Regions from separate parts of the Homo sapiens genome. Here region 1 is linked to region 2. Evidence: promoter capture Hi-C in 16 types of primary human blood cells and fetal thymus (Javierre and others, 2016). All regions are on one chromosome and are shown on one strand. Each heading gives the region's core, a stretch centred on a gene start or on the middle of the fragment in contact. The rest is flanking DNA. Distances are from core to core; before and after follow the strand shown.

Region 1 (6,046 bases), core at 1,830-4,329, 980 kb after region 2:
GTTTTAGGAATTTTTTTGAGTTACCTTGAAAATGTGTAATCATGTAAAAGAGTTTTAGAGAATGATAATACACTTAGATATCACTGTACTATAAAAAATACATAAGTCATATAGAAAAAAATACAAAAATGATGCTACAAGCTCATAATGTATTTCCATAATGGGCTTTGAATATTTGAATATAGTGCTGTGATAATAACATAGGCCCAGTTGCGTGAAATATTCATGTTTAAATTTTTTGTTGTTTTATTTATAAAGCATTGCTGTGAAGGTTTGAATGCAGACTTTCAAATTTTGAGAAATTTGAAAACAAATCACAGTGGTTTTGATAGCTTCTTTTGAATCATGGGATTGATTAAAGCAAGAGAATGCCAAATATCCATTGAAATTAAGTGAAATGAACTTAAATTGATCAGTTTTCCTCAAAGAGTTAGACGAGTTGCCTATGCAAGGTCATTTCTATTAAGTTCTGAAAGTAGTTGAGTCATTGACACCCCTGCTCAGATTTGCTGTTTGAATTGATATCGGGAAGTTTTGGCCAATGTGTGTGAGGTAAGGAAGAAGACATTTCAGAATTTCTTTTTTCTTCACTCTTGATTCATCAAGTACAGGCCTGAGAGATTCTGAAGAACTTCATCAAACCTGACGTTTATTTCCCACCCATTTTTTTAAACAAATACTCATGTTATGCTTTAGAAACATATAGTGTCACATTTTTCATATTTATTTTTTAAAAAATATGCATAGTCCCTGACTGAAAGATGCTATTAATCTATACAATGAATTAAAATAAAACCTCATTGCAAATATTAGTTCACAAGGTACAATCATCCATATATTCAGTAATGTGTCATCACTGTCAAGAGAATTCCAAGGATGCTTTTTGCCGCTTCTCTCTTCCAGAAAAGAGAACACTGATATAATATACAAAGTTGTAATAGACATAGACTCATCAATGATAGGATGTGGTCACCAGTAGTGGTTGAAAGTCTGAAACAAAAAAGATTAAAATTAAATGTGCTTGGGAAAATTCTCTCTCCTCTTCGATTGTGCTTTTCCTATTTTGGAACCATAATAAGATTCAGCTAAGAATGTGCTCTCCGCCTTAGAAAGACAAGTAGGAACAAAAACAGAAAGAAGTAAGAAAACATGGAGGAACAGGTTTATGTGTGGCTCAAATCTAATCTGTTTCTAAAAAGTCAGAATGAGCTTATGCATGATGAATGAGTCCAGCTCAATAGGGTGAGAGAACCTATAAGAATTTGGAGCCAAACTTCTACATAGAAGTAATATGTATGTATTTATGGAAATGTCCTTCTTGTAAATGTGTAGCTCCAAAGTGTATCTCTTTGTGGACATAGGGAATTGAAAAGCAATGGCTGTGTTAACTAGCTATTTGGTTTGCTCAAAATTCTCATATCAAAACTCTTGTGAATTTGGATGCTGCTTCTATTTTTAATATATTGTTCTCTGTGACATTGGCATAGCATCATTCCATAGATTGCAGTGACCAGGAAAGCAATAGAAAGCTTTTGATTGCTACCTAAGAATCATTGTGAATAAATACATTCAAAAGAAAAGAAATCATTATCAAAGTTGAACACAAAGCTAAAGACATTATAACTTAAAGACTTTCCATTTTTGTGTAAAGCACTTATTTAAATTAGATTTATGTGGACCTTGAATAATCCATTTCCTTTCTGGAGTCCATTTGGAATTTTTTCTTTGGAATCTGCTATTTAAATTAAGGCTGTCAGGAAACGTTACCATGGTTACTTGCATCACCTGAGCCTGAAATGAGAGTTTTTGAATATTTTCATTTCTATGCTATCATCACTGCCTTATGTACAAGGCAATTATATCTTTGGGGGTTAATAATACATTTTACTACCTTTATATGAAGCTTGTTTATAACCCATTGAGATACTGCAAATGTACGCGTCCACTGAAAATGAAACTCTGTGTCCATTTCATTCACGTGGGAGACAGGATAGGAGAAAAGGGCAACTTAACTCCAGAGGATGATTTGAATTTGGCATTTTCTTAGGGGACAGATATACAGTGCCCATTGTTTCTTCTGTCTACTATTTTTAACATTTTTATTTTGCTTATTCTTTTCCGTTATTCTATCTGTAGTAAATAAAGACCTGCATCCTAGACCCTTAAGTTTAGATCCTTCTTGACCAACCCAAGAGCTTTATTCCTTAAATTATTCCTAAGTCTTTCCTCACAGTCCTACTAAATCTATTCCCTGTAAGATTCCTTAACTGAATGTGGCAAATAGCCAAACATGGCCAAAGTCCACAGCTAAAGGTGATGGCTAATAGATTCATTGAATTTCCACACTTGTTGACCAGATTTCTCTATATTTTAACATGCAGAGATATAATGAAAACACAATTCTTTATACAGAATAAAAATGTGATACTTCCCATAAGAGATTGACATTAAAGGTCTTGCATATCCTGTCTTTTAGAAATACACTTTTAATATCATTCTTTGTCCACCTCACCCTAACAAGATAAGATTCACCTCAAAAGCTCGGGCTTCATTGTGCAGGCTTCAGTTCTTGCATTCATAGCACAGTGGTGAAGTAGCCACTTGGAATCCAAATTGCCATCAAGGACAATTCTAAAGAAACGTCCAATAGTATAGTATGTCCTGTGTTCTTTCAATTTCCTCTTCCACAAAGCAGTGAATAAGGCTTAATGATCTTCATAAATTTTTATGGCATCAGTATTTGCAGAGAATTGGAGGATCCCCTTCCAAACTCAGAATTAACACAATGATAATATAATTATTATTTGCCTAGTAATTTATAAAGAATTGCTACATACATTACCACATTTTATCATAGACTCAACCCTAGGAAGCACATAGGACAAGAATGTTCATTATCTCCATCTTATATTTATGGAAAACAAAAATTTAGACATGGGACGTAATTTATCTGAGATTACATGATTGATCAGAATATGACCCCAAGGTGATTGATGATAAATCCCAAGAGCTGTCTCTTATATATTACGGTCCCTTCTCTTTAATCTCCACACCCAAGTCTAAAAAAGTAAATAACTTGTGCTTAGGATCTAAAATAGAACACAATGAGAAAAGTCAGGTATGTTTGTTTTTTCCTTTTCCTGACTTTTATTAGTGTTTTTTTTTCTCATTTAAAAATAAGTATACTTTTTCAATTCTTCTTCTAGGTAAAAATTAAAACACAAAATGCTCATTTGTTCTAGTTTTCTAATTTTGCATGTTTCTTTGTATGACAATGTCTATAATTAGAGTTTAATTCTATCCATCTATTCTGTTTTTATAGATAAGAATGTTTTATATATTTTTAAATCTGATTGAGTTTTTTTCATAAGGCACAAATCTCTTTGTCTAATTCACCTAATAATATAGGAAAAAGCCAGATTACCCCCAGAACAGTAGATGTTCAGATGTCTGACAGGCAATTTCCTGGAATAGCCCACCTCTGAGAGGATAAGCACACATGATACGCCAGATAGAAACAACTGAGTGGTGGCAGAGTACAACTAAACATAGCATTAGAGTAAGTGGCTGCATTAGTTACAGTCAACGGAAATTTCCAGAAAATAGGTCTAGGCTTTTAGTGAGAGTCTGTTCTCTAATTCTACTCAACGCATTAAATTCATTTTCCAGAAACTAATTTGAAGTTTCTCTATCCAAACATAATCTATAGAGATCTTTAAGCATTTTGGTGAATTTTGAAATTATTCTAAGAATGAATTGTATTGCCTTAATATAGCATAGTATTTAAAGGGCATATTTTCTGAGTATACTTTATATTGCCACTGACTGAAACATACAGTTATAATAGTGGTTCTTCCTCTTTTAGGTATATATTTATTCACTTTCCAGCAATATATACCAAAATTATGCTCTTATTAGTATTGTATTATTACAAAATTTGTTTCATAGTGTATATGTGCTTTTTATCCTTTTTATAAATTTAATGGTGTATAAAACCCACATTATAGCTCACATGTGCTTTAATCAGCAATGTATAAGAGCTATAATGATGAAGAGGAAATGGAAAGACCTTTGTGGAAGAAGAAATGGAAAGAACACAGGGCATATTTTCCCATAACCTCACTAAACTGGTATATTTTTGATATATTACATTTGTGAAGTGTAGGACATGATCTTTATTTTTTATTTTGCATTTCTGAACTCTGGAGGCATGAGGATCAGGTTTGCGGTAGTTCGGAAGGTCTGGAAAAGCTTTTCCAAGGAATTGCTGACCAAGCTGACACCTGAAGGGGTCAGGAGAGCTGATTCACTGAGGAGTGAGAACACTAGAGCACAGGCAGAAAGCACAGCACACATTCGAGAAACAGAAAGAAGGCCCCAAGGCCTGGAGCAAAGTCAGGAAGGGGCGCTTTGTTTAGATGAGGCTGGCAAGATAGCTCAGCCAAGGCCTGTCAATACATGGTGTTAGAGGCCATTTTAAGAACTGTGCTCTTTATCCAAGAACAATGAGAGACATTGAAGAGTTTTAAGCTGAGGGTGTGAGCATATTCTGGTTTGCCTGCCCAACACTGATTCTTCATGTGAGGATTAGGGTTGAATGTTGGAGGAAAAGAGTGAAAGCAATAAGGCTGGTTTTGATGCTCTTGCTGTGCTGATGATACAGCACTGCTCCCTGCCTTCTTTGCTCTCTATCACCACAAAAGAAAAGCCACCACAGCTGTGTACTCAAATGTGCACACCCTAGACCTTGCCATGACCTTGACCCCAACCCTTGCAATTTATTATCTCTTCCTATTCTTGTGATCCCACTCCAAAATTATTTGACCTCATTAAGACCTCCAATTCAGTGAACTTACCATTTTTTCACTATAATTCATAATCTATTATCCCTTTTATGGCTTCATATTTGTCACCCAACTGAGATTTCATGGTCCAGCACTATAATAATATCATGGAAAATTTTCTATTCTTTTTTCCTTCTGCTATTCACACCTGTCAGGCCTTTGGCCAAACCCAACTACCTATCTACATTATAATTCAACTGAAGCAGCTGAGCACTGACAGAAACACACCACACAACCAGGTTCACTGGGCTCATATAAACTTCATGAACAAAACTTAAAAATGAATACTCAGCAAATATAGAGTACTTTACTTTCTTGGTAAATTCATTTTCTCTTTTCCTAAAATGGCTTTTTTATACCATATCCTCTTTCCTCAAGTTTCCTAAAATTCTCCACATTTCTCAATTTGAAGTGTTGCCTTTTTCACATTTCACTAAAAAGTAAGATCAGTGAAAAATAAAATCATCCTTCTACCACCAACTCCGCCAACCTACCTGCATCTGTAATAAGATAGTCCTTGTAGGGATTGACATGAAAATGGAATATTTCTCCTCTCTCTCTAGGGCCAATTTAATTTTGAATTAGACTTTGCTTACTATCACATTCCTAAGACTTCTACCTTGCATTCTGTCTTCTGCATAAAATTTGTCTTATCTCTTTTGAAATACTCTAATCAAAACACAAACATATTTTAACATAAATATCTTTAAAATAATCTCATTTGAGCTCAGATTTGTTTTTCAGCTACTCCTCATATATTTCTTTCCTTCCCGTAAGACTAAAACTGCTAGAAAAAAATTGTCTTTGTCTATTGGTGTCTCTCTTTCCGTATTTCCAGATTTTTCCTCAACCAGTTTTAATTTGGCTTTCATGCTTAACAGGAGTTCTAACCAAAGTTGGCAGTGGTGTATATGCCAATGGTCAGATATCTGTCTTAATCTAATAAACTTCAATAATGTTCAACACAGTTTACCGCAACCTCCTTGAATACAGTTTCTATCCTGTGCTTCCAAAACCTCTGGTGCATTAGATTTTACTTATACCTCACTAGCTTCTCTTCTTTGTCTCCTTACTGCTTTGTAAGGACTCTAAACACTGGCGAACCCTTGGGTTCTATCCTCCACCTCTTCTACTTTCTTTTTACTTCACTTCTCCTATGTGATCATATTTTGCCATTGGATTAAAATATTACCTTCATATTG
Region 2 (6,166 bases), core at 1,525-4,024:
GGTTTCAGGAAATGAATGTGTTGCTTTAAGCCACTAAATGCATATCACTTTACTATGGCAGTTAATAAGAAACTAATACAATTTTTATGAGAAACCATTTTTTAGTGTTTTAAACCATGTACAAGTAATATTGTCTCAAAAAGATTGGTATACTAGGTAGATTTCCATTAATGTTTTTCTTTAGTTTTACTAACTTTCAGGAGCAAGTTTTCACTAACAGATAATCTCTATGAGATGTATTAAGCTGATTTGTTGTTGTGGCTCACATTTATAGATGTAGTCCCCAAAACACACAATCTCTACCATTAAGGTAGTCAGTAACAGCTAATGCCCCACAGTAATGTGCATGGATAAATGCACGGAGGATGATGGCACACTTTTCAATGGTATATAGTCTAGCTAGGGAGGGAAAGAAGCACACACAAGCTCTATGACAGGTTTATATAAAAAGGAGTATACCCATGGGTGCCTAGTAGTATTGTATGAGCCATACTTAAAAATACTAAAATCCTGGCTGGGCACGGTGGCCCACACTTGTAATCACAGCACTTTGGGAGGCCAAGGCGGGTGGATCATTTGAGGTCAGGAGTTCGAGACCAGCCTGGCCAGTGTGGTGAAACCCTGTCTCATTTGAGGTCAGGGGTTCGAGACCAGCCTGGCCAATGTGGTGAAACCCTGTCTCTACTAAACATACAAAAATTAGCTGGGTGTGGTGGCTGGCACCTGTAACCCCAGCTACTCGGGAGGCTGAGGCAGGAGAATCACTTGAATCCAGGAGGCGGAGGTTGCAATGAGCCGCGATCATGCCACTGGACTCCACCCTGGGCAACAAGAGCAAAACACCGTCTCAAAAAAAAATAAAAAATAATAAACACTAAAAACCTTTTTAATGCAGCATAAAGAAGTGTTGAGTGGAATGGATTAATTTGAAAAGATTATTTATATATAACAGGTAAACTAAATTTTGATATAAAGATATGAACTTGCTAAGCTCCAGCAAAGATTTACAATAAGAGAACATTAATGAGCAAAGTAACAAGGATGAACAACTATAAGCTGTACACTGTTACTATTTATATAACTAAAGTTAATAACAATAACATTTACTAAGTGCCAGGCACTAGACTAAGCACTTTACATTTAATTTCCACAATTCTATGAGGTAGGTACTATTGTTATCCCAATTAAACAGATGGGAGGTTAAGTAATTTTGCCAAGATGGCAACTCAGGGAAAGACAGGTGCCCAACTCTGTCCTTTGGGACCACATTCTGAGCTGTACTGAAAGAGGATGCAGCAAAACCACTAATGAGGTTATATCAAAAAAAAATGACAGAGCCAGAAATGAGCCAATGAAAACAGGTTCATATGCCACTCTTTTGACTTCTATGCCAAAGCAACGTACTTCTACTATACAGCCTGATAAAAAGTGAAGCTCTGATAGTCAAGGACAACTACAGTCAAATACCAATCTATCTCCCCAATCACTCAAACACAATGAGATGTAATTGCTTTCATATTCCACTCTGAAAAGGGGAAAAAAACTAACACTATAAAGAGTTGGAAATCCCACAAGCAAAGTGACAAGCAAACACTGAATTTACACAAATGTGTACAATCTAAAGTACAAAATATGCGTCAGCAGTGGATCAAAATAAAGCACAAAAAACTCGCGAAACAACGAAAGAACCAGACTGTAAGACAAAAATGGCATACAATGAAAAGAGAAAAAAATGAAAAGAAACAAAGAGGCCACATTGTGGACACAATATCGTAACTTCTGACCAGATTATAAACTTTTAAAATTTTGCTTTTATTAAAAATTAATTGAAAAAAATTTATAAAGCATGTTTCTATGCAAGAATTACTCTCAAGAACACAACGATTACGTAAAAAATAGGCAAGAAACAACATACTGTTTCAAAATACAAATATATGTAGTAACTATAAAGAAAAGTAGTGAAATTATAAATACAAAACTTAGATAATGTTTGCTTCTTAAGGTTTCCTGAAAGTTCAAAGAAGGTAACACAGGGCTTTCAAAGGCTATGTTTTATTTCTTAAAACTACAAAATGGGTAAACGAGAATTCCTGAAACTGTTCATCTTTACACTTGAAATGTGCTTTAGTAACACTCTTTTGTATCTACTCAGTTTTTAATAAAAACAACAAAACTGCTTCAGTGCCCTGGAGCGAATGGGGGCGTAACGGCAGGATTCAGGGCACTAACGAGAGGTGAACGGACGCCGAGGAAGAGGCGACTAAGCCCACATACTGAGTCTACCCAGGCCAGAGAGGCAGAGGTGTGTAGGGCCAGCGATCTCAGAAGTTTTGCCAAACTCCTCGATGCGTTACAATGGAAAGGTGCCGGGTTTCCCCCAGGAAGTAGTGACTAGCGAGAAGTTAGGCACAAGGCAAAGAGGAGCAAGGCGACGTGTGAGCACTTCAGCACTCGGACGCGGAACTCTAAGGTCCAGGCGTTGGGCCTGGGACTCGCCTCCCAGAGGCTTCGCCCCGCACCCCGCACACTCCCTGAAAATAAACACTTTGCATCCTCCCCTCTCCTAGGTTCCCGAAACCGCACCCTCCCTCTCTGCCTGCTCAACAAGAGCCTTCCGGGGAACCAACCGAGCGGTTCGGGGGAGCAGGAGGGGGCCCACCATGGTGACGTCCTCGTGGCCACGGAGCAGCTCCGCACTCTAGACCCAGGTAATCTCACCAACCGCAGGAGCAGCAGCTCACAAGAGCACCCGGGCCGAATCCCACGTGGCGCCTGAGAAGCCCGCGCCGACCCAACCGGAACAGGAGAGGCGAGTGCGTTTCTCTAAAGCGTCCCCGTTAACTGAGACCGCGTCTTTTTCGCCCGTGTTGGGCTTTTAAGCTCTAGCCCAACGGACAGCCAGACCTGCGTGCTCGCCGGGAGCGGCGGAAGGGAGCTTGCGGCGGGAGGCTGAACTCTGCCTGGTGCTGAGTGCGAGGCTGGGGATTGGAGCCCGGGTGGAGACGCTACACGCTTCCGGCCCCAAGAGCGGAGCTTGCCCATCTGTCCCAGAGCACGACTCCAGAGCGCAGCAACCTCTTCAGACAAGAGGTTCCCTCTTGCGGGCTCCCGCATCTCAGGGGCTGGGACCCTCTCAAAAGGGCCGCTCGGTGTTGGCTCCCCGGAGCTCTTGCACGGCACAGGCTCCTGCCCTCCGCTTTTCCACGTACTAGATTACCTTGGGCAAGTCCTTTCCTGCACTGAGTCTTTTTTTGCCCTGCCCTGCCCTGCCCTGCCCTGCCCCGCCCCGCCCCTCTTCTCTTTCCTTTCTTTTCTTTTCTTCTTTCCCTCTTTCCCGCCTTCCCTCATTCCCTCTTTCTTTCTTCCTCCCGGGTTCAAGCGATTCTCCTGCCTCAGCCTCCCGAACAGCTGGAATTACAGGCCTCCGCCACCACGCCCGGCTAATTTTTTTTTTTTTTTTTTTTTTTTGTATTTTTAGTAGAGACGGGGTTTCGCCGTGTTGGCCAGGCTGGTCTCGAACTCCTGATCTCAGGTGATCCGTCCGCCTCGGCCTCCCAAAGTGCTGAGATTACAGGCCTGAGCCACCACGCCCGGCCGAGTCTTAGTTTCTTTATCCGGAAAGGCCACTTCCTCATATTCAAGGCCTCTGCCAACCCAGTTTTTGTTTTCTTCTCACAGCATGTGAGAGTCTTTGTTTCACCCATACATGTTAGAATTCCGTAGACAATGTAATCATTCAAAAACTATTTATTGAATGCCTACTGTGTGCCTGGTACTGGGGATACTCCAACAATATCCCTCACTCAGCTCATTTTCCAGGGGATGGAGGCATGTAAAAATATTATTTCAAATAATATAAGTACTCTAATAAAAATTAGCTGGCGGGGGCATGTAGAAAAGCTGTTTTACACATGGTGGTCTCTATAAAGTCCTCTTTTAGAAGTGATAATTGAGCAGAGACCGGAATTGTAAGAGAAAACTAGGCATGGGAAGAAGCTCCAGGCAGGGTGAAGCTGGTGTGCCTTGATATGTGTGTGCAGCTGTTAACAGTTGAGGGTAGTTGGCTAGGTCCTTGGCGTTTTGAACAAATAATTGGACAAAACACACAAATAAAGCAAGGCAGCGAAAGCAGAGATTTATTTTAAATGAAAGTACACTACTCCACTGCGTGGAAGCAGGCTGTGGCAAGCTGCTCAAAAGCACAGGTTGCAGAATTTTCTGGGGTTTAAATACCTTCTAGAGGTTTCCCATTGGTCTTCCACAAGTCTGATTGGTTGAGGAAGGGGACCAATCTGAGGCACTTTCATTTTTCAACTGCCACACAGAAAAAGAAGGGCTTGCAACTGCCAGGCAGCAACTGCCATGCAGAAAAAGGAGGGGTTGAAGGGGAGTAGTCTTTCAACTGATATCCCATCAGCACAAATCAGTCCTAGCTTCCCTGCTTCCAGACCCTATTCTCCTGCCGCACAAATACTTGTATTTAATCGACAGATATATCAATTTTTGGAAATAATTTAAATTGTAAACAAGAGTGTGTCCAGAAGATTCCTGAATCTAGGGGCAAGGTATTTTCACATGGCTTTTTTTGTGTGTGAATCTATGCAATGAAGGTCACCTTTGAATATATACTGTGGAGGCAGCACATTCATGCATCACTTAAGGACGGGGATACTTTCTGAGAAATATTTCAATGGGGGTTTTGTTGTTTGTTTTTTGTCATGTGAATATCATAGAGCACACTTACACAAGCCTGCATGGTATAGCTTACTACCCACCTAAGCTGTATGGTATAGCCCATTGCTCCTAGGCCACAAACCTGTACAGCATGTTACTCTACTGAATACTGTAGGCAATTGTAACACAATGGTAAGTACTTGTGTATCTAAACATAAGAAATGTACAGTAAAAATATAATCTCATGGGATCACCATTGTAATGCAGTCCATGACCAAAACATTGTTACATGCACATGACGGTACTCTGTGAAAGACTCCAATTAATCTAGAATATTTACACCCTAGCTCCATACTTTAGCCACTTCCTGTGAAGCCATCTTTCACCCACCCTACCCCATTCCCTAAGTCTGGCCCTGTGGAGATCACCCTCCTAAGTTCTATGTTACTGCAAATCTTTTAATTATTAAATTTTCCTTCTGGCTATTTTAGCTGTTACTGATTGCTCTATTGATCATAAAATTCCTACCTACTCCTAACCCATTCCTAAACTTCAAATTGCCAACAACTCAATAAACCATATATCTTGAAACTTTTATTTTTTATTTTTAGTTGAGTTTTAGAAATAAATCTTCATATTTTCCTCATTCAGATTCAACCCCTAAATAACATTGATTATAGACATGTTAAAAATATACTGTATATGTTCAAAATACACTGTAGCAAATACAAACATGAATTATACAGAGCAAGAATAAAGATAATAATGATGGCTAATGTTTTGTCATTGTTTAATATATGTATGCACCACTGTGATAAGCAAAATGAATCCCCCAACTTTTCCCCTCCCAATTCAACCTCCCCTTTGCCCCGTGCAATAACCACTGTAGATGATTTGGAGACATCTTTAGAGATATTTTCCTGTACTTTAACAAATATACTCAGATGTGTGTGTATGTGTGTGTTGTATGTATGTGTGAGGATTAAGTATTGATTAACATTAGGTATTGATACAATAAGTACAAATGCATAATTCTAGTGTCACAACTAAAAGAATAGAAACAGGGTACCTAACTTTGTACAGGCTACACACAAGTAGAGAAAATAAAATAAATGGAATGATTAAAATATACTCAGGTAATTCCAACTAAGAAAATAAAGGAGAAAACATGAAACATAAGACAGGAAAACAAAAAAAAATATGGCAGTAGATTTAAATCCATAAAACAGTAATTACGAAATAACTGCCCCCAACTAAAAAAAAGTCAGATTGTATTGAAAACATCCAACTGTATCCTGTTTATAAGACACATCTAAGGTACACGAAAATAGAAAAATAAATGGAAAGAGTTATGCTAGGTGAATGCTAACTGAAACAATCCTGGTATACATATATCAATGTTATACGAAATAGACTTTAGGTCAAAAAGTAATATGGTATATATAAAAGATCACTTCATAATGATAAAAAGTTTCCATTTTAAATTCATGTG

What was found. Contacts are between HindIII fragments. The CHiCAGO score rates a contact against its expected background, and 5 or more counts as called.
Region 1: a contact is called between a fragment that was not itself captured here and the fragment with the promoter of TMA16 in region 2, in 1 of 17 cell types (M2 macrophages). The highest score is 6.1, in M2 macrophages.

The regions. Positions count from the first base shown.
Region 1 is chr4:162,508,619-162,514,664 of GRCh38, reverse strand. No RefSeq gene overlaps it. Among named protein-coding and RNA genes, the nearest start is that of FSTL5, 350 kb to the right of the region's middle. The HindIII fragment of the contact is 2,348 bases long and covers 1,906-4,253 here.
Region 2 is chr4:163,491,298-163,497,463 of GRCh38, reverse strand. It overlaps TMA16 (translation machinery associated 16 homolog), which reads right to left and starts at 2,774. Exons shown (of 7, transcript NM_018352.3): 1 at 2,660-2,774. The coding sequence starts at 2,662. It overlaps LOC124900805 (a long non-coding RNA gene), which reads left to right and starts at 2,240. Exons shown (of 2, transcript XR_007058354.1): 1 at 2,240-2,302; 2 at 2,568-5,450. RefSeq lists enhancers at 2,198-2,347, 2,378-2,517, 1,981-2,883 and a cis regulatory region at 4,165-4,436. The HindIII fragment of the contact is 17,381 bases long and covers 1-6,166 here.